Regions from separate parts of the Homo sapiens genome. Here all the other regions are linked to region 5. The links are contacts of gene promoters, found by promoter capture Hi-C in blood cells and fetal thymus (Javierre and others, 2016). All regions are on one chromosome and are shown on one strand. The core of a region is centred on a gene start or on the middle of the fragment in contact, and the rest is flanking DNA. Distances in the headings are between cores, read along the strand shown.

The links. Contacts are between HindIII fragments. The CHiCAGO score rates a contact against its expected background, and 5 or more counts as called.
Region 1: the fragment with the promoter of SHF here is called in contact with the fragment with the promoter of COXFA4L3 in region 5 in 11 of 17 cell types (M2 macrophages, erythroblasts, M1 macrophages and 8 more); the score reaches 9.3 in M2 macrophages.
Region 2: a fragment that was not itself captured here is called in contact with the fragment with the promoter of COXFA4L3 in region 5 in 2 of 17 cell types (monocytes and total B cells); the score reaches 7.3 in monocytes.
Region 3: a fragment that was not itself captured here is called in contact with the fragment with the promoter of COXFA4L3 in region 5 in 15 of 17 cell types (M2 macrophages, M0 macrophages, monocytes and 12 more); the score reaches 29.2 in M2 macrophages.
Region 4: a fragment that was not itself captured here is called in contact with the fragment with the promoter of COXFA4L3 in region 5 in 3 of 17 cell types (M2 macrophages, M0 macrophages and monocytes); the score reaches 10.8 in M2 macrophages.
Region 6: a contact is called between a fragment that was not itself captured here and the fragment with the promoter of COXFA4L3 in region 5, in 15 of 17 cell types (M2 macrophages, total CD8 T cells, fetal thymus and 12 more). The highest score is 11.3, in M2 macrophages.
Region 7: a contact is called between a fragment that was not itself captured here and the fragment with the promoter of COXFA4L3 in region 5, in 4 of 17 cell types (M0 macrophages, M2 macrophages, monocytes and 1 more). The highest score is 13.6, in M0 macrophages.

The regions. Positions count from the first base shown.
Region 1 is chr15:45,185,541-45,189,357 of GRCh38, forward strand. SHF (Src homology 2 domain containing F) reads right to left here and starts at 2,426. Exons shown (of 7, transcript NM_001394037.1): 1 at 1,914-2,426. The coding sequence starts at 2,411. It overlaps LOC124903481 (a long non-coding RNA gene), which reads left to right. Exons shown (of 2, transcript XR_007064608.1): 1 at 1-918; 2 at 2,575-3,278. RefSeq lists an enhancer at 854-1,406 and a silencer at 2,321-2,370. The HindIII fragment of the contact is 22,026 bases long and covers 1-3,817 here.
Region 2 is chr15:45,282,477-45,286,080 of GRCh38, forward strand. No RefSeq gene overlaps it. Among named protein-coding and RNA genes, the nearest start is that of SLC28A2-AS1, 5.1 kb to the left of the region's middle. The HindIII fragment of the contact is 3,162 bases long and covers 36-3,197 here.
Region 3 is chr15:45,645,358-45,648,769 of GRCh38, forward strand. The region is part of intron 1 of SQOR (sulfide quinone oxidoreductase); the gene reads left to right. Among named protein-coding and RNA genes, the nearest start is that of SQOR, 12 kb to the left of the region's middle. The HindIII fragment of the contact is 4,297 bases long and covers 1-3,399 here.
Region 4 is chr15:45,663,570-45,667,042 of GRCh38, forward strand. All of the region lies in intron 3 of SQOR (sulfide quinone oxidoreductase), which reads left to right. Among named protein-coding and RNA genes, the nearest start is that of SQOR, 30 kb to the left of the region's middle. The HindIII fragment of the contact is 4,176 bases long and covers 1-3,473 here.
Region 5 is chr15:45,429,147-45,432,638 of GRCh38, forward strand. It overlaps COXFA4L3 (cytochrome c oxidase associated subunit FA4L3), which reads left to right and starts at 1,464. Exons shown (of 5, transcript NM_197955.3): 1 at 1,464-1,509; 2 at 1,624-1,686; 3 at 1,855-1,940; 4 at 2,926-2,986. The coding sequence starts at 1,651. RefSeq lists a silencer at 1,407-1,486. The HindIII fragment of the contact is 4,531 bases long and covers 1-2,247 here.
Region 6 is chr15:45,205,537-45,209,033 of GRCh38, forward strand. No RefSeq gene overlaps it. Among named protein-coding and RNA genes, the nearest start is that of TRH-GTG1-9, 6.1 kb to the left of the region's middle. The HindIII fragment of the contact is 2,735 bases long and covers 418-3,152 here.
Region 7 is chr15:45,680,353-45,683,984 of GRCh38, forward strand. It overlaps SQOR (sulfide quinone oxidoreductase), which reads left to right. Exons shown (of 10, transcript NM_021199.4): 7 at 2,126-2,309. Among named protein-coding and RNA genes, the nearest start is that of SQOR, 47 kb to the left of the region's middle. The HindIII fragment of the contact is 1,307 bases long and covers 1,076-2,382 here.

The sequences.
Region 1 (3,817 bases), core at 1,176-3,675, 240 kb before region 5:
TTCTCATCACACCCATTAAAGAAACCACAGATTGTATGGCTCCTGGGAGAGCCTGCTGGATTTCATTCCTGTCCCTGTAGCTGACAAAGGAGTCAGACATCTCTTGGCCCCTAAGTCTGAACAGCACACAGATCACAGAGCTGACCCAAGCTGAGGCATGGAGGCCCTTGGCAAGAAGAGGCTGTGAGTCTCTGCATAGAACTGTGTGGGTGCACCCCTTCCTTGGGGGTGTCTGGGAAAATGTGCAAGGGAAGCTGTGGCTAGGGGAGTCTCCGACCCTCACGCCACCCTGATAATGGACAGTCACCATTCAGGACATATTTATGTACCCTTTTTTATGTCAAGCATTGTGTCAGGCACTTGGGAGACACAAGAAGACATGGTCTGTGTCCTGGAGGAGCCCATGGCTTGGTGGGCAGCCTGTTAGGGCATCCAAGCCACTGTAGAGAGGAGAAGGGCCAAAGACAGCTCAGGCCCATGTTGCCTGTGCCAAACAGGCAGTGGTTAGAGAGGAGGAGACTGACTGGTCAGTGGGAAGAACAGGGCCTATCCCTCTCCTCTGTCTCACTGTCACTACCTCCATCACATCACACAATAGCAGGGGACAAGAAGCAGACGAGCACAGCCTTGGAGAAGTGCCCTTGAACCTTCCTCTGCAGAATAAGTATCCTGGCCCAGGATGGGCAGCCATGCCCCATGGCAAAAACTAGGGGAAAAATAATTTGCATTCCTGAGGCTTCTGCTCTGACCCTGACAGATCTCTCTCATCCAGGAAATCTGGCGGAACGGCGCTCTCTCAGCTAAAAAGCCTCAATCCTGGAGCCAACGGATTCGGAAAGCAACTTTGCACTCCAATCAAATAAAAATGTTCTTCTCTGCTGAGGAGAAGGGGGCAGGCCCCAGAACTGAGCTCTCGGGGTGAGTGAAGAAGGACAGCAGAGCCAAGGCAGCCCACAGAGTCATCATCACAGAATTTAGGGGCCTGGGATGGCTTTCAGCTCTCACTCTGCCAGGGAGGGATAAGGCCAACCCGAATCAGGGCAGGGCCCTGAGGCATGGTGGATTTCCTGTTCTCCTCCCTATCCTGGTGCCTGCAGACCCAGGAAAAGCTCCAGCCTCCCTCAGAATGGACCAGGGGGAGAGGGAGGCCAGGAGGAGAGGAGGAATGGGCTCAGCTGCTTAGCCCCATGTGGGCAACAGGTCCTGAGCACTGACTATCCTCATACCTGAGAGGACGAGGGAAGGAGGGAGGAGTGGGCCTGGACCCCACGAAGCCCCCTTGGCAAGAGCTGTAAGCTGCCTGTCTTCGCCTCCTGAGAACAACAGCCTATAGGGCAAAGGCCAGCTCGTGCTGTGTCCGCAAGGAGAAACCCGTCTTCACCTCCTTTCTGGGGCTTCAGCACCTGCAAGGATGCTTAGGCTGGAGAAACAGGAGGAGGAAGAGGAGGAGGAAGCAAAGAGGCAACAGGAGGGAAGAGCTTTGTGCTGGCTATGCCCAGGGGGAAGGGTCAGAGATCAAAGGGCACTGAGCCGCTGCTTCCAGAGGGGCAGAAAGGCCATCAACCAGTGGGGGTTGGGAGGTGCGCCTCAATTCCCGTTAGCAAAAGGCTCATGGATCAGGCTAGAGGGGGCTACGAAGTGGAGAGCCAGCCCGGGAGGGGGAGGGTCACCAGTTCTGGGGCCATTACAAAGGATAGGGCAGAGGGGCAGAGTTTGGGGCTTCCGTCTCAGATTAGTCGGTTGAGAATCTGAACAAAGGTGGGTGAAGGCTCGGAACCCCGGGGTCAGGGGCTCGCGTCTGCCAGAAGCTGAGACACCGAGGGGCCCGGGCCAGGCCACCTTTGTCCCTCTCGCAGCCTCCAGACCCCTGACCGCCTTCCCTCCTGGCCATCCCGGCCCGGCGCGGCACTCACCCTATCGCTGCTGGCGGGGGGTCCGGAGATCCGCTCATCAGCAGGCGGCGCCGGGGGCCCCGGGGTCTCGACCCGAATAAGGCGGTGTGGGGGAGAGCCGTGGCGCGGGGGCGGCGTGGGTCCGGGGGCGACAGGGGTGGCGAGGGCGGCGGAGCCGGACGACCCCCCGGAGTAGGGGTCTTCGAAGTCGCGCTCCCGCTGCAGCCTGTAGGCGGCCAGGATGTCCGGGGGCGGCGCGGGGGGCGCGGCCGGAGAGGGCGCAGGGGGGCGGTAGTCGGGCTCGGGGGGCGCCGGCTTGCTGCCCCCTCCGCCGCCGCCCCCCCCGCGGAAGCCCAGGTGCTCCCGGAGCCACTTGGCTACTCCGCCGCTGCCGCCCCCTCCTGGGCCGGCTCCCGCACCCCCGGCGCCCCGGCGGGACCCCCCCGGGCCGCCCCCAGCGCTCCCCTGCGTTCGCGGCCCCGGGCGGGAGCCAGCCGGAGGAGCTCCGCTCAGTAACATGGGGCCAGCCAGACTGAGCGAGGGGAGCGCAGCGGCGGGTGGGGGGCGGGGGCGGGGGTGGGGAGGGGGGCGGGGCTCCGCCGGGCGGGGAGGGGGCGGGGCGCTTCAGTAACAAGGGAGAGGCGGGGCTCCGCTCCCTAACAGGGTCTTCCTCCTCCCGTAGCTCGGAAGAGTGTACGCGGGCTTCCAGCCGGTATGCACAGGCAAGAAGTGAAGTGGGCAGCCCTGGGGCAGAGGATGCGACTACTGGACTGAGGTTGAATCCTTTACGTGTCGCCACGCGGTCCCCTGTGGGGAGCGCATCCATCCCCATCTGTTCTTTTCCCCAGCTCCCAGCTCGTGCGAGACGCAAAGAGGGGAGCCCCCAGACTCCTGACTCTAGGGAGCCTTACGCCTCTCCTCTTCCCTCTCCCAGGATCTCGCAACTGGGAAACTATAATCTAGGAGGAAAATCTAGGCGGGCAAGAAAAGGGGCTAGGTTCTGTAAGATGTGTCTGTAAGCCTCCTCCTCCCGTGCTACCTTGGGAGCCCCACAACCTCCTCCCATCCAACCGTACGCACTGCACATACCCGAACCTACGTTACTTCCCGATCCAGGCAAACACATCTCACATCACATACAAACAACTCCCTAGAGACGCCCACTTCTCCCGTGTCGTTTTCACACACGCCCTTCTCACACGCAAACAGCCCTCGCTCAAACATCCCCCACCCACGGGAGCACCTGCTCCAAACGGGCCCACATGGCCCTGACGATAGCATGCGCACGCACGCAGAAATCCCTTCCAGCCACATCCCGGGCTTCATTGTCAATCAGATTAGTAACAGAATGGAAACAGACAAGTCAATAAATCAAGTCTAGAAACAGTCCCAGTGTTGTCTATCACAAACTCCTTATCCTCTTGAGGCTCAGATGCTCAAGTGCTAGGCATTTTTGTCTTAGAAATAAAGCCAGTTCCGGCTGGGCGCGGTGGCTCACGCCTGTAATCCCAGCACTTTGGGAGGCCGAAACGGGAGGATCACGAGGTCAGGAGATCGAGACCATCCTGGCTAACACGGTGAAACCCCGTCTCTACCAAAAATACAAAAAAATTAGTCGGGTGTGGTGGCGGGCACCTGTAGTCCCAGCTACTCGGGAGGCTGAGGCAGGAGAATCGCTTGAACCCAGGAGGCAGAGGTTGCATTGAGCTGAGATTGCGCGACTGCACTCCAGCCAGGGCGACAGAGTGAGACTCCGTCTCAAAAAAAAAAAAAAAAGAAAAAGAAAAAAGAAAAGGAAAGAAATAAAGCCAGTTCCTCACCATAAATGTAGGCCTGAAGCCAACACCAACACATTTGCTCTTGGCTCTGCTGGGAAAGCAGCTGTCTCACCTCACTTTACCCCACCCCCTTTCCCCCACTGCCTC
Region 2 (3,604 bases), core at 367-2,866, 150 kb before region 5:
GCATCCATCACAAAAATGTGCATATTTTTGCTCTAAGCTTTTCTTGAGACTGTAGGCTCAAAAATGCTAGTACCAGGAGTAGTCTTTAAAAGCAGACCTTTAAAAGTGTGATTTTAGAGACTAGCCCACCTATCTAAAGGCAATCAGAACTGTTTCCCCAGTGGTAAACAGGATAGTATAACCCTGCCATGCAGGGGCATGCATGACAATTACTAAGGCTTTCACCTCCAGTTGACTGGGATGAGGTGCAGATAGAAGATAAGGAATTAGGATATTATGTGGCTGCTGTATTTGATCAGTATGGGAGCAATAATAACGGCACAGAGTGGAGAATAGACTGGCTGCTCTTGAGAGCATTGGAAGTCTTGGAAAAAGAAAATGATAGTTTAAAGCAGCATATTGCCAACTAAGTAACAATATGAAAGCCAGAGGAGTTCTGTGGCAGCCATAAAGGAGACTCATCTCTTGCAGCAGTAGGTTAGACACTGTTGAAAACAATGAGAACACTTGGACACAGGGTGGGGAACATCACACACCGGGGCCTGTAGTGGGGTTGGGGGAGGGGGGAGGGATAGCATTAGGAGATATACCTAATGTAAATGATGAGTTAATGGGTTCAGCACACCAACATGGCACATGTAAGCATATGTAACAAACCTGCACATTGTGCACATGTACCCTAGAACTTAAAGTATAATTTTAAAAAATTTAAAAAAATTAGGTTCAGGGCTGGGTGCAGTGGCTCACACCTGTAATCCCAGCACTTTGGGAGGTCGAGGTGGGTGGATCACCTGAGGTCAGGAGTTTAAGAGCAACCTGGCCAACATGGCAAAACCCTGTCTCTACTAAAAATACAAAACTAGCTGAACATGATGGTGCACACCTGTAATCCCAGCTGTTGGGGAGGCTGAGGCAGGAGAATCACCTGAACCGGGAGACAGAGATTGCAGTGAGCCAAGATTGTGCCATTGCACCCCAGCCTGGGCTACAGGAGGGAAACTCTGACTCAAAAAAAAAAACAATAAATAAAAAGAAAAGAAAAGAAATTAGGTTCAGGATCCAGAATGGCAAAGCTGCTAAAGGTATTGAATGCATAGCTTCAACAGCTTTCCCATGTGGAGGTATTTTCCAGAAAAGAAAAATGTGAGGCGTTAAGACCTGAATAAGAAATATGTGAGTGGCAGAGTGACCAGTGAACCCAAGGCATCAGCATCACCTGCTAGACATGCAGAGTCTCAGGCCTCGCCCCAGACCCACTGAATCAGAATATGCATGTTAACAAGATTCCCTGGCCGGGCACCGTGGCTCACGCCTGTAATCTCAGCACTTTGGGAGGCAGAGGCAGGAGGATTGCTTGAGCCTACAAGTTCAGGGCCAGCCTGGGCAACATAGTGGACCCCGTCTGTACAAAAAAATTAAAAAAAAAAATAGCCAGGTGTGGTCCCAGCTGCTTGGGAGGCTGAGGCAGGAGGATCGCTTGAAGCCGGGAGGTTGGGGCTGCAGTGAGCCATGATCATGCCACTGCATTCCAGCCTGGGTGACAGAGCAAGACGCTATCTCAAAAATAAATAAATAAATAAATAAAATATGTGAGTGGATGAGCCTCAAAATCTGGAGCTCCTAATTGTCCCTAAATCTTCCTGGCCAGCAGAAGCAGTCCCTTTTCTTTCTTATTTATTTATTTATAATGCTGTCAGCAAAACCCTTTTCTCTTGACTAAGGAAAACAGCCTCCCCTTGCCCATCCAAAATAGGTCATTGCAGAATAACTTTCGTTCTTCCCAAGATAAGCCTCCATTCTCTGCCTTTTTTGCCTCCAGTCTGGTAATCTGTGCCAGAGCTCAGCACAGCCTGAGCAGGGAAGTACAGGTCCTGCTCCAGAAGGAGTTAGCCTCCATTCCAAAGGAACTGTAGGACCTGGAGAATATGTAAGAACTGAGGACTAAACTCTAATTTTTTTATCTGCCCAAATTCCTACCTAAGGGGTCTAGGGAGTCATGTCCTACAAACCATAAATTCTCATCAGATGGGTTTTGTTTGACCCTATATATCGTGACTTACTTTTCAATCACTCTGGCATAACATTGAGACAAGGAAGAAATATTTAACCCCAAAATATATTTCCTTGCTATACCTTGAAATTGCCCTACAAAGTCTCTTGTGGGAAAAATACATATCCTGTAGAGAATCCCCTTCCCCCTTTGTTTTCTTTCCTTTCTTTCCAGATCCAGGAGATAATCAACTAAGAGCCAGACACCCTTTTAGGTCTGATAAGAAACATTTTATAACCTGCTCTCTCTCTGAAGTCTGCTATCTGCACAATAAAACTTGGTCTCTCCATAATCCTCTTTCTTAACCTGAACATTCCTTTCCATTAATCCCAGGTCTTCAGATAAACTCAACCAATTGTCAACCAGAAAATGTTTAAATCTACCTATACCCTGAAGCCCCCGGTTTGAGTTGTCCCACCATTCTGAACCAAACCAATGTATTTTATTTTATTTTCTTTCTTTCTTTTTTTTTTTTTTTTGAGATGGAGTTTTGCTCTGTCACCCAGGCTGGAGTGCAGTGGCGTGATCACAGCTCACTGCAGCCTCAGCCTCCTGGGTTCAAGCGATTCTCCTGCCTCAGCCTCCCAAGTAGCTGGGATTACAGGTGCACGCCACCAAGCCTGGCTAATTTTTGTATATTTAGTAGAGCTGGGGTTTTGCCATGTTGGTCAGGCTGGTCTCAAACTCCTGACCTCAGGTGTTCTGCCCGCCTCAGCCTCCCATAGTGTTGGGATTACAGGCATGAGCCACCATGCCCAGCCCAATATATTTCTTAAATGTATTTGATTGATGTATCATGCCCCCCTAAAAATATATAAAACCAAGCTGTACCCCAACCACCTTGGGTACGTGTTCTTAGGACCTCCTGAGGGCTGTGTCACAGGCCATGATCACTCATATTTGGCTCAGAATAAACCTCTTAAAATATTTTACAGAGTTTGACTCTTTGTCAACAGAATCAGGGTAATGTAGGTGGGAGTAGATCTTGAAAATGTAAGACTGGGGAGAGAGAGAGAGTGAGTGCATAAAATAAGGTTTTATAAGAGAGAATTCATTACCTGAGGGCATACATTCATGAGTGGTTATCCAGTGTTTTGGCAAGAGCACTTGAGGTCACTATAAATAGTTTGTTGTGCTGTTTCCTTGAAGCTTGGACACACCAGAAATAATCTTGGCATTGTACTGGAGAAGGGATCAAAAGTCATAGGAAAATGAGAACGTTAGAATATATTTACTATGTATTAAGACCTGCTAACCCGCCACCTGTCTATATACTCCAAGAGCCCAGGGAACTTCCTTATACTAAGGAATAAGAAATACATTGGTGAAAGGAGCCCTGTCAAGGCCAAGAGTGGGGGATACTGCCATGGAACACGGATCTCTAGTATCAAAAGGGTTGATGGAATTCCAGAATACCAGAAGCCAAATAACACTCAACTAACAGAGCAAAGGTAAATACAATTACCATAATGGGCAGCAATGCCAGTACGACAATCAAGGTGCCTTGACCCATAAATATTTTTGGCAACAATTAGTAGATTTGAGTATTCCTAG
Region 3 (3,412 bases), core at 1-2,500, 220 kb after region 5:
AATTTTATGTTCCAGTTTGACTGGACTATGGGGTGCCTAGAAATTTGGTCAAACGGTATTCTGGGTGTGCCTGTGAGGGGGTTTCTGGATGAGAGTAACATTTGAATGGGTAGATTGAGCAAAACAGATTGTCTTCCCCAATGTGGGTTGGCCTTACGCAATCAGCTGAAAGCCTCAGTAGAACAAAAAGGCGAACACTCCCGTGAATGAGAGACAATCAGCCCTGCCTGCCTGAGTGTCTTGGAGCTGGGATATCGGATGTTCTTCTGTGTTGAGAGTCAACTGAAACATGGCTTGTCCTGTGTCTTGAGCTGGCCTTGAGACTGAAACTGTACCATAGGCTCTCCCGGGTCTTCAGCCTGCTGACTACAGAATTGGGACTTAGCTTCTATAATCTTGTGAGCCAGTTTCCAGGAATGTCCTTCATGTAATAGGGAAATGATGATGTTTGCTTTGGTTGCCTCCCTCATTCCTTTCACCTCCTCCAGTTAAATCTTGTTTTGACCCTTTATTGGCTGTGGGTGCAGGGAGTTTTCCCATGTTCCAGGAGGCAGCCAGCTTGTAACTAGCAAGCATTGCTATGTTTGTATTTCTGATACATTTTCTAAAAGAGATCGCAGAACAAAGGGTCCTGACTCACCAAGGATACAGGTATTTGTTGTGATTTACTTTCTCATTCAAAATACATATTGGATATTGTATCTAATTTTGTATTGGTAATTTTGGGTTATGAAACCCCAGATTTGAAGCCCCAAATTGTATAGGGTTCAATGCCCATAAAACCCAGATCTGCCCCTGCTTAGAGGCCGGCCCCTCTAGGAGACAGCATGTGGGGCCACCCAGAGATGCAGGACTCTTCTGTTCTGCCCTATCGCAGCAGAGAGGCCATCCCTGGAGCTGGAAGGTGCAGACTGGGAATTGCTCCTTCTCTGAATTGCTAGCTCCTGCTAATGCCTGCATTGCTGCTGCAAAGGATATTCAGAAAAAGTTGCTCGTCAGAAAAAGAATTCATGCTAGCTCTGGCCCTGCTGCTGATGCATTGTGTGAAACCCTTGAGTGACTTCACCTCTTGGAACTCAGTTTTCCCATTTGTAAAGTGATATCAATACTTCCGGTGTGGGCTCAGGTTTGGGCCCTGTGAATTGTAAAGCTCTATGCACATGGGAGGATGTATGATTATAAGTTGTGTTGCTATTACTTGTATTGCTAATATCTTGCTATTATTGAAATATGCCCAAACCTTAACATTTCAGTGACTAAAGAGCAAAACCAGTGTTCACTCTGACATAGTTTTTTTAAATTTTTCATTCATTCACTCATTTTAAGTTTTTATTGTGTAAACTTTCATCAAACATGTACAAAAATAGACTGCCACAAGGAATGCCCATATATATCCATCCACTGATTTCAAATTATTGCCAACTCATGGCCCATTTTGTTTCATCTACACCCCTACCCACTTACACCTCCTAAAATATTTTCAAGCAAATTCCGAGTCATTTCAACTATAAGAATCTCGGTGTATATTTCTGAAAGATAAAGACTCCTAAAAAATTAAATCAGTACTATTATTGTACCTTGCCCTTCTCTGCCAAAAAAACTTAATTTCTTTCTTTTCAGTTTATTTAGTAAGCTAAAATTTAGTAACAGGGAGGCCGAGGCTGGTGGATCAACTGAGGTCAGGAGTTCGACACCAGCTTGGCCAACATGGTGAAACTCAGTCTCTATTAAAAATATATAAATTAGCTGGGTGTTGTGGTGGGCGCCTGTAATCCCAGCTACTCAGGAGGCTGAGACAGGAGAATCGCTTGAATCCGGGAGGAGGAGGTTGCAGTGAGCCGAGATCATGCCACCGCACTCCAGTCTGGGCAACAGAGTGAAACTCTGTTAGAAAAAAACAAAACAAAACAAAACATATATTCACTCTCACCTCCCACCTCACTCCATGGGATTCAACCAAGCTACTTTAACTTTTTTTTTTTTTTTTGAGACAGGGTCTTTGTCTGTGGCCCAGGCAGGAGTGCAGTGAGGCAGTCTCCACTCACTGCAACCTCCTCTTCCTGGGTTCAAGTGATTCTCCTGCCTCAGCCTCCCTAGTAGCTGGGATTATAGAAGCACACCACCACGCTTGGCTAAATTTTGTACTTTTAGTAGAGATGGGGTTTCGCCCTGTTGCCCAGGCTGGTCTCGAACTCCTGAGCTCAAGCAGTGCGCCCGCCTTGGCCTCCCAAAGTGCTGGGATTATTTTATTTTCATTCAAATTTAAAGTAGCTTGGGCCAGGCCCGGTGGCTCAGGCCGGTAAATCGCAGCACTTTGGGAGGCCAAGGCGGGTGGATCTCTTGAGGCCAGGAGTTTGAGACCAACCTGGCCAACATGGCAAAATCCCGCCTCTACTAAAAGTAGAAAAATTAGCTGGGCGTGGTTGTGGGTGCCTGTAATCCCAGCTACTCGGGAGACTTGAAGCACAAGAATCGCTTAAGCCCAGGAGGCGGAGGCTGCAGTGAGTGGAGATCATGCTGCTGCACTCCAGCCTGGGCGACAAGTGACAGAGCAAGACTGTCTCAAAAACAAAATAAAATAAAATAATTTCAGCCAACAGGCATTTTTCCTGAATTATTAGATAGTTTGAATTAAGTTCTGTTGCTTAGTCATGTGACCTTAGGCAAGTTCTCTATCTCTACTCAAACCCTCAATTTTATCATCTGTAAAATGGGGATTTTATTTATAAGGTTATGAGGAGTCTTTGAGACAGCACAAGTACAACTGGTAAACAATAAATGTTAGTTATTATTTCAATGATAGTTTTTTGTTTTTTTGTTTTTTTGTTTTTTTTTTGAGACGGAATCTTGCGCCACCGTCACCAGGCTGGAGTGCAGTGGCACGATCTTGGCTCACTGCAACCTCCGCCTTCTGGGTTCAAGCGATTCTCATGCTTCAGCCTTCCCAGTAGCTGGGATAACAGGCATGTGCCACCATACCCAGCTAATTTTTGTATTTTTAGGAGAGACGGGGTTTCACCATATTGGCCAGGATGGTCTCCATCTCCTGACCTCGTGATCCGCCCACCTTGGCCTCGCAAAGTGCTGGGATTACAGGCGTGAGCCACCACACCCAGCCAGAATAGATTATTTTCCTACCAAATCCTGTCTTCTGGATTTGAAATAAGAAAATATTTGGTTAAGAGGTGTAAATAACTGATAATAGCATTAGGGCTGACTTAATTAATTAAATACGCCCAGAAAGCCCAAGTGGGAGGATTTAGTTGAGGAGGAGGAGGAGTTTTCCAACAGTCCCTCCACCTGGGCACCAGGTGTAAGCCTGACCTGTGCCGTGTACACAGTGCTCATTCGTGCCCTGAGACAGGAAGCTACAGAGATCCAGACCAACAGCTCACAGTAAGCTTGGGCCAGG
Region 4 (3,473 bases), core at 603-3,102, 230 kb after region 5:
AGCCTGGGCAACATAGTAAGACCCTGTCTCTACAAAAAAAATTAAGACATTAGCTAGGTGTGGTGGTGTGTGCTGTGGTTCCAGCTACTTGGGAGGCTAAGGTGGGAGGATCACTTGAGCCCAGGAGTTCAAGGCTGTGGTGAGCTGTGATTGCGCCACTGCACTCCGTCTTAGGTGACAGAGCTGTCTCCAAAAAATAAAAAAATAAAAAAAACACAAAAAGAAAAAAAGAGTACCTGCTGTATAGCATTTATGATCCTTGGCTTTCTGGCCTCCATTCATTCATTCTACAAATATTTATTAAGCATCTACTATAAGCCAGGTGCAGTTTTAGGCATTAAGGATATGTGTAGTGAACAAAAACAGACACAAATTCTTATTGAACTGGATATTATATTCTAGTCAGGGAGAACATACAATCAACATAGACATGATAAGTAAATTATATAGTATGTTAGAATGTGATGGTTATTCATGAAAAAAAATAGAGCTGATTTGGAGCTAATTGGTATTGGGGCACATGGAGGTGGGGGATTGAATTTAAAATAGGTTGGTATTTACATAGTCCATGGCCAAGGAGTTCTCTGATAAGTTAACTCTTCATCTTTTTAGACACGTGGGTTATATGAAAGTTCTGTCTTCACTGAGCCAGAATCCACCTTCCTGTAACTTTTTTTGTATTCTTTCTTGGACACCCAGGATGTTATTGTTTTTAATACACTTAATACCTTTCTTAATACTTTTATTCCTTGTTTTGTCCTGTTGTGTATGAGAGAAGAATGTCTTCTCTCTTTTCTGTGGAGAAACCCTTCAGCTATTTGAAGATGGCTCTTATGTTTTATGTAAATTTTCTCTAGGTATATGTGTCCCCCCCATCCTCATGTCCCTCAATTCTTCCTCACATTTCATGGTTTCCAGTCCCCCCAGCCCCCTCTTTATTCTGCTTTAAACACCATCTGGCTTGTTAGTGCCCCATGAAAGAGGTGCCTGGAAAGAAGGCAACTTTACAGAACAGCCCAGAATAGCGTGGAGCCATTCTCTCCCATGATCTCATGCTGCATAAGTTAGCATTTGCCTTTTTCGTGACAGTTACCACGGTGCTGATTCATGCTGGGCTTGAGGTCGGTGCAAATTGCTGGGCCCTTTTCACATGACCCACGATCAAGTCAGGCTTCCCCCATCCTGAAAAAGTATAGTTGTTATTGATTTTACCTAAAGGCAGAAATGAATATATATAAGCAAATACCTATATGCATATATATTTATTTTAATTAAAATTTTTATATATGGCTTTTGTCCTGTTACTAGTTCAGAACTTTCTTATTTTTCTCAATGTCTCCGGGAGACCAGACTGAATTACACTCAAGATTGTTCTCAATCACAAGGTTGAGCTTGGTGGCTCTCTTACCTTGCCAGTCTCCTGAACACAGGGCCAGGAGACCTCTCTCATATCACACACAGCATCTCTTTGGTACAGCAGGGCCTGCCTCATTGTTTGGACCCCTTCAAGCTACAGGAAGAGCTTTAGAGCCTTCGGTGGTTGGGTTCATGCTCATCTCAAGGACCATATACTTTACTCATCTCTTGGGAATGACAGGCACTACTAGGTGTTCTCACTGCTGAGTCCTACCTATTACTCCTAAGGTTAGACACTTAGGAAAGCTGTAGTGTCTTGTTTTAGGGCAGAGAAGTTGGTGCAATGTAGTGGGACTTTCTTCCAAGATTTTATGAAGCAAAACGACTTCATAGCCAGATATCAGAAATACACATGACATCTCATGTGAGAAATCATCCTGCTGGTTTTAATTCATCCTCCCAACACATCTGGGTCTTTTGGATTTATGACTCTGTCAATCCATTAGCAATTTTTCTATCTGTTATTCACAGGTGGTTTCATATAAGTTCAAAGTTTTAACTCTGTAACATGTCACTAGAGAGCTTTTTTAGATTGCACAAAATTAGTCAACATTTCTTTAGCAAATATTATTCAAGTGACCAAATCATTCCATTCTGTCTTTTTTTTTTTTTTTTGGAGACAGAGTCTCACTCTTTTGTCCAGGCTGGAGTGCAGTGGTGTGATCTTGGCTCACTGCAACCTCTGCCTCCCAGGTTCAAGTGATTCTCCTGCCTCAGCCTCCCGAGTAGCTGGGATTACAGGCATGTGCCACCACGCCCAGCTAATTTTTGTGTTTTTAGTAGAGACAGGGTTTTGCCATGTTGGCCAGGCTGGTCTCAAACTCCTGACGTCAGATGATCTGCCCACCTCGGCCTCCCAAAGTGTTGGGATTACAGGTGTGAGCCACCGTGCCCAGCCCATTCCATTCTTAGTTTACACTTTCCCACCTTATTGGTGAAAGACTGAGCTGAAGGCACTGTTGAAACCCAGACTCAGTGTGTCTCTGATTCTTCCCTGATCCGGGGGTGTGTTTGTCTGAAACACATCTCAAGGCCCTGTGTAGACTGGTCCTTGCTCCTTCTCCAGGCTTAACCTGGTTCTATTCTCTCCTTGTTCCTGCTCCTGCCATACTGGCCTCCTATTTCCTCAAATGCCTCAGCCTTTTTCTTACCCCAGGACATTTGCACATGCTGCTTCCACCTCTATCCCTAGCTAACTGCTACTCATCTTTAGCTTCGATATGACTCCTTCAGGCAAGCCTTCCTTGACTTCCCAGACTAGGTCAGGTTATCCCTTGATGTGCTATCACAGCATTCTGTGATTTAGTAATTATTTGTGTCATTATCTGGTAATGCCTATCTCACTCACTAGATGGAGTTCCTGAAGGGCAGGAAGTGTATCTTTCTTGTCCATTGTTTTATGCCCAGGACCTAGCACAATATCTGGCACATAGAAGGTGCTCAGTAAATATTTGTGAGCAAATTGTGTCTGTTTCTTCATTTGTAAAATAATAATAATAATAGTACCTAGATACCTTATGAAGTTGTTGTGAGTGTTAAATGAATGAAACCATATGAAGCACTTAGAACAGCACCTTGCACAGAGTAAATGCTCAATAAATGTTGCTGTTATTTTTAAAAGAATACATAAAAAGGAAAAGGATATATTTATTGAGTATCTACTATATGCCAGCAGTTCTTGATTGCTGATTGAAAGCAGCAGGCTTATCATCTGTGAACCTATGTTGGTGCTCCTTTTCCTCTCCCCTCCCCTTCCCTCCTCTCCTCTCTCCTCCCCTCCCCTTCTCTTCCCTCCCCTCCCCTTCTCTCCCCTCCCCTCCTCTCCTCTCCCCTCCCCTCCTCTCCTCTCCCCTCCCCTCCCCTCCTCTCCTCTCCCCTCCCCTCCCCTCCCCTCCTTTCTCCTCCTCTCCCCTCCCCTCTCCTTTCCTTTCTCCCATCCCCTCCCCTCTCCTCTCCTTTCTCCCATCCCCTCCCCTCTCCTCTCCTTTCTCCCCTCTCCTCCCCTCTCTTTCTTCCTTCTCCTTCCCCCTCCCTCCCTCCCTCCCTTCCTTCCTTCC
Region 5 (3,492 bases), core at 214-2,713:
GCTCTGAACTCAGGTCCATTTGACTACAAAACCCAGGTTTAGAATGAAAATGGGGTTGAAACACAGCAGGGTCTAGCCAATTTCAGGGAACGTTAAGATGTTGCCTTTTAACTTTAACTTACAGCTTGAACTTCAAACTGTTTGTTTTAAAATAACTGGTCCTTTACTTATTGCAGTATTTAACAGAGGGGTGCAGACAGAACCATGGTGTTGGGCACCAGACAGACCTGCGTTCTGATGGCATCGCCGCCACTTACCAGTGACGTGACCAGAGCCTCTCTGAGTCTTAATAAGACTTTGCACCCACCTTGCCGAGGGGAATCTGGCTCAGTGTCTGGCACACACACAGCCCCTGGCTCTGTGAAATTGTTACCATTGCAGCCGCCTGCAAACTGCAAAGTGAGGTTGCTGGCTTAGAGGAGAGTTAGGAGGGAACCCAAAGACTAAACCAGCCGGCAGGGTCGTTTGCAGAAAGACCTTCTCCTGACAGCCTCCCCAGCTTATTCTTTTGTTTGTTCTCCCTCGACCTCGGGTTTTTGTTTTATTGTGTTTATTTGTTTGTTTTTGTTTTTTTGGGTTTTTTTTTTAGCAGAAAAAGTCAGGACGCCCTGGGAGTTATTCTGAAATAAACTTTACAATTTAATTTTAATGATCTCCATAGGTGCACAGACCACATTTTGGAGCTTTTAATGTGATTGGATTAATTCTAATTTACCCGCCTGCACCTGGGAGCCTCTCCTGGGACCCTCCGGTCTGCAGCTCATTTTTCCGGACCCCCTTTTATTGTTTATTTGCTTATTTAAATATTTTGTTTTATTCTATTTTATTTAAAACAGGGTCTCGCTCTGTTGCCCAGGCTGGAATACAGTGGTGTAATCTTGGCTCACTGCGACCTCAAAGGCCTGGACTCAAGCGATTCTCCTGCCTCGCCCTCCTCAGTAGCTGGGACTGCAGGCATGCAGCACCACGCCCGCTAATTTTTTTTAGTAGAGACGTGGTTTCGTCACGTTGGCCAGGCTGGACTCGAGTGATCCTCCTGCCTCAGCCTCCCAAAGTGTTGGGATTACAGTCCTAAGCCACCGCGCCAGGCCCGGATACCCTTTTAGAAGGGTTGGCTTTCCCTCAGGCCTCGGCTATCTGCGCTCCCCTCTTAGGGGGTTCCACCTCCTACTCCCCAAACCTCCAAACTCCTCACAAGCACCTAGGGGGGCCAAGAGCGACCGGGGTCGGCAGGTAAGGAAGACCGCGGCGAGCGGCAGGGGGCGCCAGCGCCCGCGTTCGGGCGCTTCACGTCAGCCGCAGAATGTCCTGCAGGGGGCGCCCGGGAGTCGCGTGCCCAACGGGGAAAGCGAGTCAGGTCCCTCGCGCTCCCCGCCCCACGCGCGTGACCAGAGCGCGCTGGCCCGGCCCACCCGGGGCGGTTGTGGTCGCTATATATAAGGTGGGGAGGCCGCCGGCCCGTTCGGTTCCGGGCGTTACCATCGTCCGTGCGCACCGCCCGGCGTCCAGGTGAGTCTCCCATCTGCAGAGACGCGGACGCGCCGGCCCGCAGTTGGCCTGCGGAGCGCGGTGGACGGTTTGGCGCCCACCAGGCGATCAATACTTTGGATTTTTAATTTCTAGATTTGGCAATTCTTCGCTGAAGTCATCATGAGCTTTTTCCAACTCCTGATGAAAAGGAAGGAAGTAAGTTTTAAAAACAATTGAAAATCTTGACTAAAGTTTTCATTTTTAAAGATGAAAAGATGGCACAGATTTTGAACAAAGTATAAAATAAATACAGTTGTTTTGCTGTGTTTCAAATGTTTCATATTGAAGTGTCCAAATGTGTCCCCTCCACCTGTTATTTGTTAGCTCATTCCCTTGGTGGTGTTCATGACTGTGGCGGCGGGTGGAGCCTCATCTTTCGCTGTGTATTCTCTTTGGAAAACCGATGTGATGTAAGTAGGTCTCAATTTATAAAAACGTTTTTGGCAGTGTTTGGATGACTTTTAGTTTATGAAATGTATAAGTTTCCTATTTTTTTCCCATGGATGAGAATGCCAAATTGTGAACTGGGAGTCAGGGTTAAAAAGCATCTTTTATCAGAAAACTCTTATGATATTGTCTACCAATGGGTCAGAAAATGAAAATTAGAAAAAAAAAAGAAAAAATTTAAAAAAACCCATGATATTAATCAAATTAGTTTATTTCTTGTGTTTATTCTTTTACCCATTGGCCCTTCTCCACTCTCTGGCAGTGAAGTAAAGCTTGTTTTTTTTTTTTTAAGTTTTGAAATTTAAAGTTCTTCAGTGGTTTTGGGAGATATATATCATGAAACAATCATTTTAATTAAAATTTTAAATTTTAGCTTATTAGATTTTTACTAATGTGGTAGAATTGATAGATTCAGTTGTCTACGATGAACCTAATCTCAACTTTGGGTAGAAGAAAGTAAAAAACAAAAACATGTATCCTGGAATATGAGGAAAAGATAAACTTGAAACTGTTGGAGGCTGGTGCAGGGCTGGAGAGGGCAGTCCTCTAACCGCTGGCAGAGGAGCCTAGAGCCCTGGAGTTCACCACCTGCAGAGTTCAACCTGCCCCTCCCACAGACTGAGATAAGAACATTATTGCATGTCCTTGGCTTGGCAGTTTCACTCCCATGGTTATTTGGTTTGTGGGATCCTTCCCCAATGCAGCCCAATCAAGAGAATACAGACCTCCTACCCTTTAGGGGAACTGATGTTTAATGTTTGAGCCACACCATGAAACTCCCTTAGAGAATTTTCAATCAATTTTAGTTGCTACTGATGGTTCCTGATCATTAGCAGACACATGCCTTAGTATGAGACTGGTTTTGTCCCTAACATGTTTATAAACCCAGTATCAGTGTTGGTTTAAATTCACATCTTTTAATGTTTAATTGGCTTTCTTTAATTTTAGCCTTGATCGAAAAAAAAATCCAGAACCTTGGGAAACTGTGGACCCTACTGTACCTCAAAAGGTATTGTTAAATTAAAAACAAATGATTTATATTTTGCCCAAACCTTAGCACCTTTGTGAGCAAAATAGATTTAGTACCTTACCCTTATTGTGTAACTTAGATCAATTGTGCCTTCATCGAGTAATTAAAATGAGGAAATTTTAAGAGCCTACTCTATGCCAGGAGCATTGTCCATCCACTCATGAGAAGCATATACACTTTTGGAACTATGGCTCACATAATACCTGGCAAACTTAAAAATCTGGATACCGGCCAGGCACGGTGTCTCACACCTGTAATGCCAACACTTTGGGAGGCCGAGGCGGGTGGATCACTTGAAGTCAGGAGTTCGAGACCAGCTTGGCCAACATGGTGAAATTCCATCTTTACTAAAAATACAAAAATTAGCTGGGTGTAGTAGAACGCACCTGTAAACCCAGCTACTGGAGAGGCTGAGGCACGAAAATTGCTTGAACATGGGAGGCGGAGGCTGCAGTGAGTTGCAGTTGTGCCACTGCACTCCAGCC
Region 6 (3,497 bases), core at 535-3,034, 220 kb before region 5:
ATTCATTCATTCTTCATTCTTCCCATAAACTAGCATCTCTTAGTTCTTAAGTCATTGGGGGCTGCAAAGCTGTATAAGATACTTCTTGCCTAGAGTAGTTTATTTTTGAGCTGAGTTTGTCAACTGAGATTTGCCCCTCATCCAAAGTCAAGTGACCAGCATAGACTGTTCAATATGCTGTAGTCGGTCTCTTGTTTCTAGGTACTTCTCTCCATATCCACAAAAAGAAACTGTAGGGAAAGATGGTGCAGGACTTTATTCCTGGCATGAGACCTGAAACTAATTCCTGAGTCAGGAAGAATGCAGGAGCTGCCTTGCAGAAGCAAAGGTCTAAATCAGTGGTTTCCAAACTTTTTAGAACTGATAAACTAGGACAAACTTTTCACCACTGAATGAAAAAATGAGGTCAATGTGGTAAGCTTTTAAAATGCTAAATGCATTTAATCCAAAGGACTGTCCTCTAGGCTGAGACAATGACCTTTTTATTTTTGAGGTATTAAAGTGACTTTTATAAAACTATGGAGAAAGTAGGTGATAGGTGTTTTTTTGTTTGTTTTTGTTTTTGTTTGTTTGTTTTTTAGACGGAGTCTTGCTCTTGGCTCACTGCAACCTCTGCCTCCCAGGTTCAAGCGATTCTCCTGCCTCAGCCTCCTGAGTAGCTGGGATTACAGGCATGTGCCGCCACACCCAGCTCATTTTTGTATTTTTAGTAGGGACGGGGTTTCACCTTGTTGGCCAGGTTAGTCTTGAACTCCTGACCTCAGGTAATCCACCTGCCTCGGCCTCCCAAAGTGTTGAGATTACAGGCATGAGCCACTGTACCCAGCCAGTGATAGGTTTTAAAAAACATCTTTTCTTGGAAACGTTTTAAATTGGCAATGTTGGTCTCCAAAATTAGTTTTGAGTTACTGGTCAGAAAAATCTGCAAATACAAAGCTCACTACAGAGTTCAGAGAGCCAAAGCATCAGGCTGAGCAGAAATGGTCCTGGGTGAGTAGGGGGTCTGAGGAGGCATGCTCAGAGGGAGATGTGTTCCTGTTCTGTTGGGCAATGGTCCATGCTGACACCTATCCTCCTGCCCAATAACCAGTAGTGCCTAGTATGATCTGTGCTAGGCCTTGGAGATATGAATTAAATAAGACCCATTCTTACTCTGAGATCATTTTAGTTCGGGGTTAATCAGATGAGTGAAGAACTAATTAGAACTATGCCAGACATATATACAAAGTGTGTTGGAGCTTAGATCGTTGATTCTACCAGGATACAACATTTGATCTGAGTTCCAAGGCATGCATAGTACTTTTCCTGGAAAAGAAAGGGAAAGGATATTCTACTTGGGAGGCTGAGGCAGGAGAATCACTTAAGGCTGAGAGGCGGAGGTTGTAGTGAGCCGAGATTGCTCCACTGCACTCCAGCCTGGGTGAGAGAATGAGACTCTGTCTCAAAAAAGATAAAAAGGAAAGGGTATTCTAGGCAAAGAGAAAGGCATAAGTAAAAGCAAGGAAGTATGATGCACAGATAGCATAGGAAAAGACAAGTTGTAGCTACAACATTAGATATGGAGGGGAGGGAGGCCGGGGAGGGCGGATCACTTGAGGCCAGGAGTTCGAGACTAGCCTGGCCAACATGGTGAAACCCCATCTCTACTAAAAATACAAAAATTAGATGGGTGCAATGGCACATGCCTGTAATTCCCCCTAAAACAAACAAACAAAGAAACAACAAAGATATGGAGGAGAGAGTGGAGGGTGAGAGGCTGGAGCCAAATTTTGATGAATCTCTTACTTGAGTCAGGCCTTTTTCCTGGAGGCTGGTGTTTCTTCACATTTTGTGGTAACATTGCTTTGGGGATCCATTGACAGCCACAGCCTTGTTCTCCAAAGTAATACACCTATGATAAAATATCAGGAATTCACAAATTTCCTGAAGGCTGTCCATAGGCTTTGTGTCAGGCATTGAGGGGAGAGGGGCATTTAAGTTCCCATTTTTAAGCAGAAGAGAGACATAGTCATATCTGTGTTTTAGAAAGGTTAGGTGTAAATGGATAATTATATCCTGATAAAAGTCTTCATTCAGGAGAGACAGAAGAGAATTTCTGCTCCCTGGACTAGTAGTTGATGTTGGAGCTCGGGGACTAATACTCATCTAGGGATGAACGAGGGACTCTTCCCTCAAATCACACCTATAGATGTTTTCTCTTTAGCATGGAGGTAGAGGGGATGAACATGTTGGATAAAAAAAAATGGATATGAGGCTTGAGTGTGTCATCCAGAAGATCACCAAGATGGCTAGATGGTAGAAAGGAGAGCTATATTGGTGATATCAGTTTGCAGCTGGGAAGAGAAAGTCTCCAACGTGGACCAATGGTGCTCTTTCTTCTTCTTCTTCTTTTTTTTTTTTTTTTTTTTTGAGACAGTATTTCATTCTGTCACCCAGGCTGGAGTGCAGTGGTGTGATCATAGCTCACTGCAGCCTTGAATTCCTGGTCTCAAGCCATCCTCCCATCACAGCCTCCCAAGTAGCTGGGACCACATGCACACACCACCACACTCAACTAATTTTTGTATTTTTTGTAGAGACAGGGTTTCACCATGTTGCCCAGTCTGGTCTTGAACTCCTGTGCTCAAGTGATCCACCCACCTCGGCCTCCCAGTGGGCTGGGATTACAGGTGTGAGCCACCTCACCTGGCCTGCTCTTTCTTCAAGGAGGGGAAGGACACGTTGGGTTTTATGCTTCACAGAGCTTGTGTCATACACATTCAGCAGATTTGGGGAAAAGCTATACATATTTATGAGGGAACTCTATGTATGGGCAATGGGTAAACATGTATGTAACATACATGCCACGTTCACTTTGGGGTAGGATTTTGGCATTGAAATGAGGTGGAATTGGCTCCACATCAAAAGATGAACTATAGGACACCAAGGCAATTTGTGCACAGCCTCTATAAGCTGTCTGAAACTGGCTTAAGGTCTGCAATAGCTTCTGAGAAAAGAATATTTGTAAGGCTGGTCCTCTGTCTAATCAGACTTGGGGTCTGGGTTGTAAATCAGAGCTCATAGCTCCTATTATTAGAGACCTTAGCCATAGGAATTTAGCAATTTGCTATGCCAGCCGGCACCTTGGACCCATAGGTAAGTTACTTTCCTTAAGCTTTGAGTCTGTCTTACTTGATAATGGTGCATCCATTTTGGTCTCTCAGATCAAAAGAGGAAGATCTAATATCAAGTGTATAATGTTTTCTAGAGTCAGGGTAGCCAAAACAGCATGAAAAGAGACGTATCCATGTTATACTGATATTGTTAGCATTGAGCATTTGACATGATGGTACAATGTGCAAATTTCAAATGTAATTTTAAGTTAAAAGGGAAAGATACATACAAAAATTGCAACAATCTGACTTGAATTTCTTTTATTTCCAAACTTTCTTCTAAATTTCAGTCATACTGGCCACGGTGTTTCATGCCTGTAATCCCAGCTGAGGCGGGTGGATCAT
Region 7 (3,632 bases), core at 479-2,978, 250 kb after region 5:
CAAAGTGTTGGGATTACAGGTGTGAGCCACCACACCTGGCCCAATGTTAATTTCTTTTTATTTCTTTTTTTCTTTTGGAGGCAGGATCTTGCTCTGTCACCCAGGCTGGAGTGCAGTGGTGCCATCTTGGCTCACTGCAACCCCCACCTCCCAGCCTCAAGCAAGCCATCCTCCTACCTCAATCTCCTGAGGAGCTGGGACAACAGGCATGTGCTACTATGCCTAGATAATTTTTTGTGTTTTTGGTAGAGAGGGGTTTGACTACGTTACCCAGGCTGGTCTCGAACTCCTGAGCTCAAGCGATCTGCCCACCTTGGCCCCCCAAAGTGTTGGGATTACAGGCATGAGCCACTGCACCTGGCCATTAATTTCTAATAAATCCATAAAGTAGACCCTTTTGTAGGATGTTAGCTCAGGTAAAACTCCATACCTTTATGATGATTATATGAAAGTATTTAGCTTTTCTTTTAGAAAAGAGTTGTGGAATTTGTGTGTACTTGTGAAATTCAAACACATTAACTCCACCGAGATGACTCTAGTAAGGTTTAGACCTCAGTTCAAAAACGTAGTTCTAGGTCAGGTATGGTAGCTTGCACCTGTAATCCCAGCACTTTGGGAGGCTGAGACAGGTGGATTGCTTGAGCCCAGGAGTTCGAGACCAGCCTGGGCAACAGAGCAAGACCGAGTCTCTAATAAAAGAAAAAACAACAACAACAAACTAGCTGGGTGTGGTGGTGCGTGCCTCCTGGCTGAGGCAGGAGGATTGCTTGAGCCCAGGGGTTCGAGGCTGTAGTGAGCTATGATCAAGCCACTGTCCTCCAGTCTGGCAACAGAGTGAAACACTGTCTCAAAAGTAGTTCTAGTTGACTGCAGAAATGCAGACAGGAGATTAATAATTTAGTAGATGATAGCTGTTGACCATTTCATCCATTATCCTGCAAACATGCATTCAGTTTCAACGTTCATGAACAGACCTGACCTCAGGGACCCATGTGCCCAAGAGCCACCCTCCACCCAAGGTTATCCTGCAGATGAGCAGCAGCCATTTGCAGTGCTCCTTCCCTGAGGTTAATTAAGCTTATATTTGTCTGAGAGTTGTAATAAGTACAAGTCATCTTCCTAATTCCCATTGCCATCAGTGACTGCTGAGCCTCTCGGAGGGCATGGGAACATTGGACTTCTTGTGGAAATGAAGGGCTATTGACTATCTCAAAAGGTTGGAATTGTCTTCAACTGCTTAAGTTTTTACCCTAATGACATGTCGTGAACATTTCAATCAATGTGTCCTTAACTGGACCCACTAGCAAATTGATGAATTTGCTGGAAGGAGTTTGTTAAAAATAAATAAAAAGAATAATAAGAACCAACTACAAAACGTGAAAGAATATTACATAAACAAAAAAATTAAATGAGCCCTCAAAAGTGATTAGGATGGGTCAGTGCACCACTACCAAAGGTAACCTTGATACGGTGTTTTGGAAAAAAATTCACCCCTGCCTTCTGCACTGAAAAGTAAATCCAGTACTGAATCAGACCCCTTGCTCCTTTTCCAAAGTGCTAGCTAATATTTTTACCACCCCTTTTCATCTTAAATTGGTGTTCTGACAGTTTCCTTTATGTGTTTTGAAGTTGACACATATTTGGGAATGATGCTTTCTTACCAGCTCCTAACATATCCTTTACAAGTTTAAGGGATGCTGAGCATCACCTTACAGAATAACGCTGAGGTGCTAAACTTTGCAAGTTGACAGCTGAGGGTCAGGGAGACTGCAACTGAAATATACCACCCCCTTATTTTAGTACTAATAAAAACATCAATGGATTTTTTCAGAATATTAGTGAGCTTTACTCCAATATCTCATGTACCCGTACGTGTGTCCACAGGGCTCTCTTGGTCTCTGTATGGGGAGATCACGTCAACTGAGAGAATGGTTATTTAGCTTATCACCATTCCCCAGGAGAACACATAAGATCTTGGAGAGGGCGTGGACTGGTACAAGTGCTGATTGTATAATGCTCCATGCAGCCATAGCACAGTGTATAGAGTAAGGAAGGTAGGGGGAGAGCTTGTGGAGCTGTAGAAATATTGAATAAATGAAAATGTGGATTCTCTCTTTGTGTGTAGTATGAAATGCTTCATGTCACACCTCCAATGAGCCCACCAGATGTCCTCAAGACCAGTCCTGTGGCTGATGCTGCTGGTTGGGTGGATGTGGATAAAGAAACTCTGCAACACAGGAGGTACCCAAATGTGTTTGGGATTGGGGACTGCACCAACCTTCCTACGTCAAAGACCGCTGCTGCAGTAGGTAAGTCAACCAGCTCCATTTCTCCCTTTCTCAAAAATATGTCACCTCAAGGCATGATTGTAACAAAAACACAAGCTTGGCATCGGCCAGAGACGGTGGTTCCTGCCTGTAATCCCAGCACTTTGGGAGACTCAGGCAGGCAGGTCATTTGAGGCCAGGAGTTTGAGACCAGCCTGGCCAACATGGTGAAACCCCGTCTCTACTAAAAATACAAAAATTAGTCAGGCGTGTGGTGGGCGCCTGCAATCCCAGCTACTCAGGAGGCTGAGGCAGAAGAATTGCTTGAACACGGGAGGTGGAGGTTGCAGTGAGCCAAGATCGCACCACTCCTTTCCAGCCTGGGTGACAGAGCAAGGCTTCATCTCAAAAAAAAAAAAAAAAGGCCTTCCTAAGACAGAAGCAAGTTGTCAATGAACCCAGTGTCATATACAGCAAAAAATACCTTTTGAGTGCTTTGCCCCAGAGTAGCATGATCTTATCTACCTTTTCTAGGTCAGAGGGGTTGTTGTCAGAAGAGGGGGCCTTAGAGTGCATCACTTTTCTAGCTCTCTTGAATTCTGTTACTTCTCATACTGCCATACTGGCATCCCTGGTATCTTTGCCTCTGACACCAGGCAGGTTGGCTATTTTTCTTCTGCCTGAAACACCATAAAGCTCGAGGAGCATTTGTTTTCCCAGAAAACACATGGAAGTCAATGAAAGCTTGCAGACCAGAAAATTGTCCTGTTAAGACAAATACAGTGGAGCATGCCCTGAGTGGTACACGATTAAGGCCTCAGCCTGGAAAACTAAATTCTTCACCTCGATGTTCTGCACCAGCAGTGATGGGGAGAATTGCCTTTTAGATTCTGTCCTCTACTGACAGGAACTGTCTTCTCTGGATGCTATAAAACACAAGACCTTCAGTATGGTCATGTTTTGTGTGAATTAGACACCTGTGGAACAGATTGTGTTACTTTTGCTGACTATTTCAACCTCAAGGTAGACCATCTAGGAAACTCACTGAGTGTCTTTTTCATTATTAATATTAATTTCCTTCCAACTTTTTATTTAAAAAAAAATCTCAAACCTATACAAATTTGAAATAAATTATAATACTCATATACCCTTCAGGTATTAACCAATTATTAATATTTTGTGACATTTGCTTCATCGTATTTATGTATATATGTATATTATGTATGTATATATTATGTGTGTGTGTGTGTGTGTACATATATATATATATATTTTTGTTTGTTTGTTTGTTTGTTTGTTTTTTGGTGGGGGGACAGAATTTCACTCTTGTTGCCTGGACTGGAGTGCAGTGGCGCACTCTCAGCT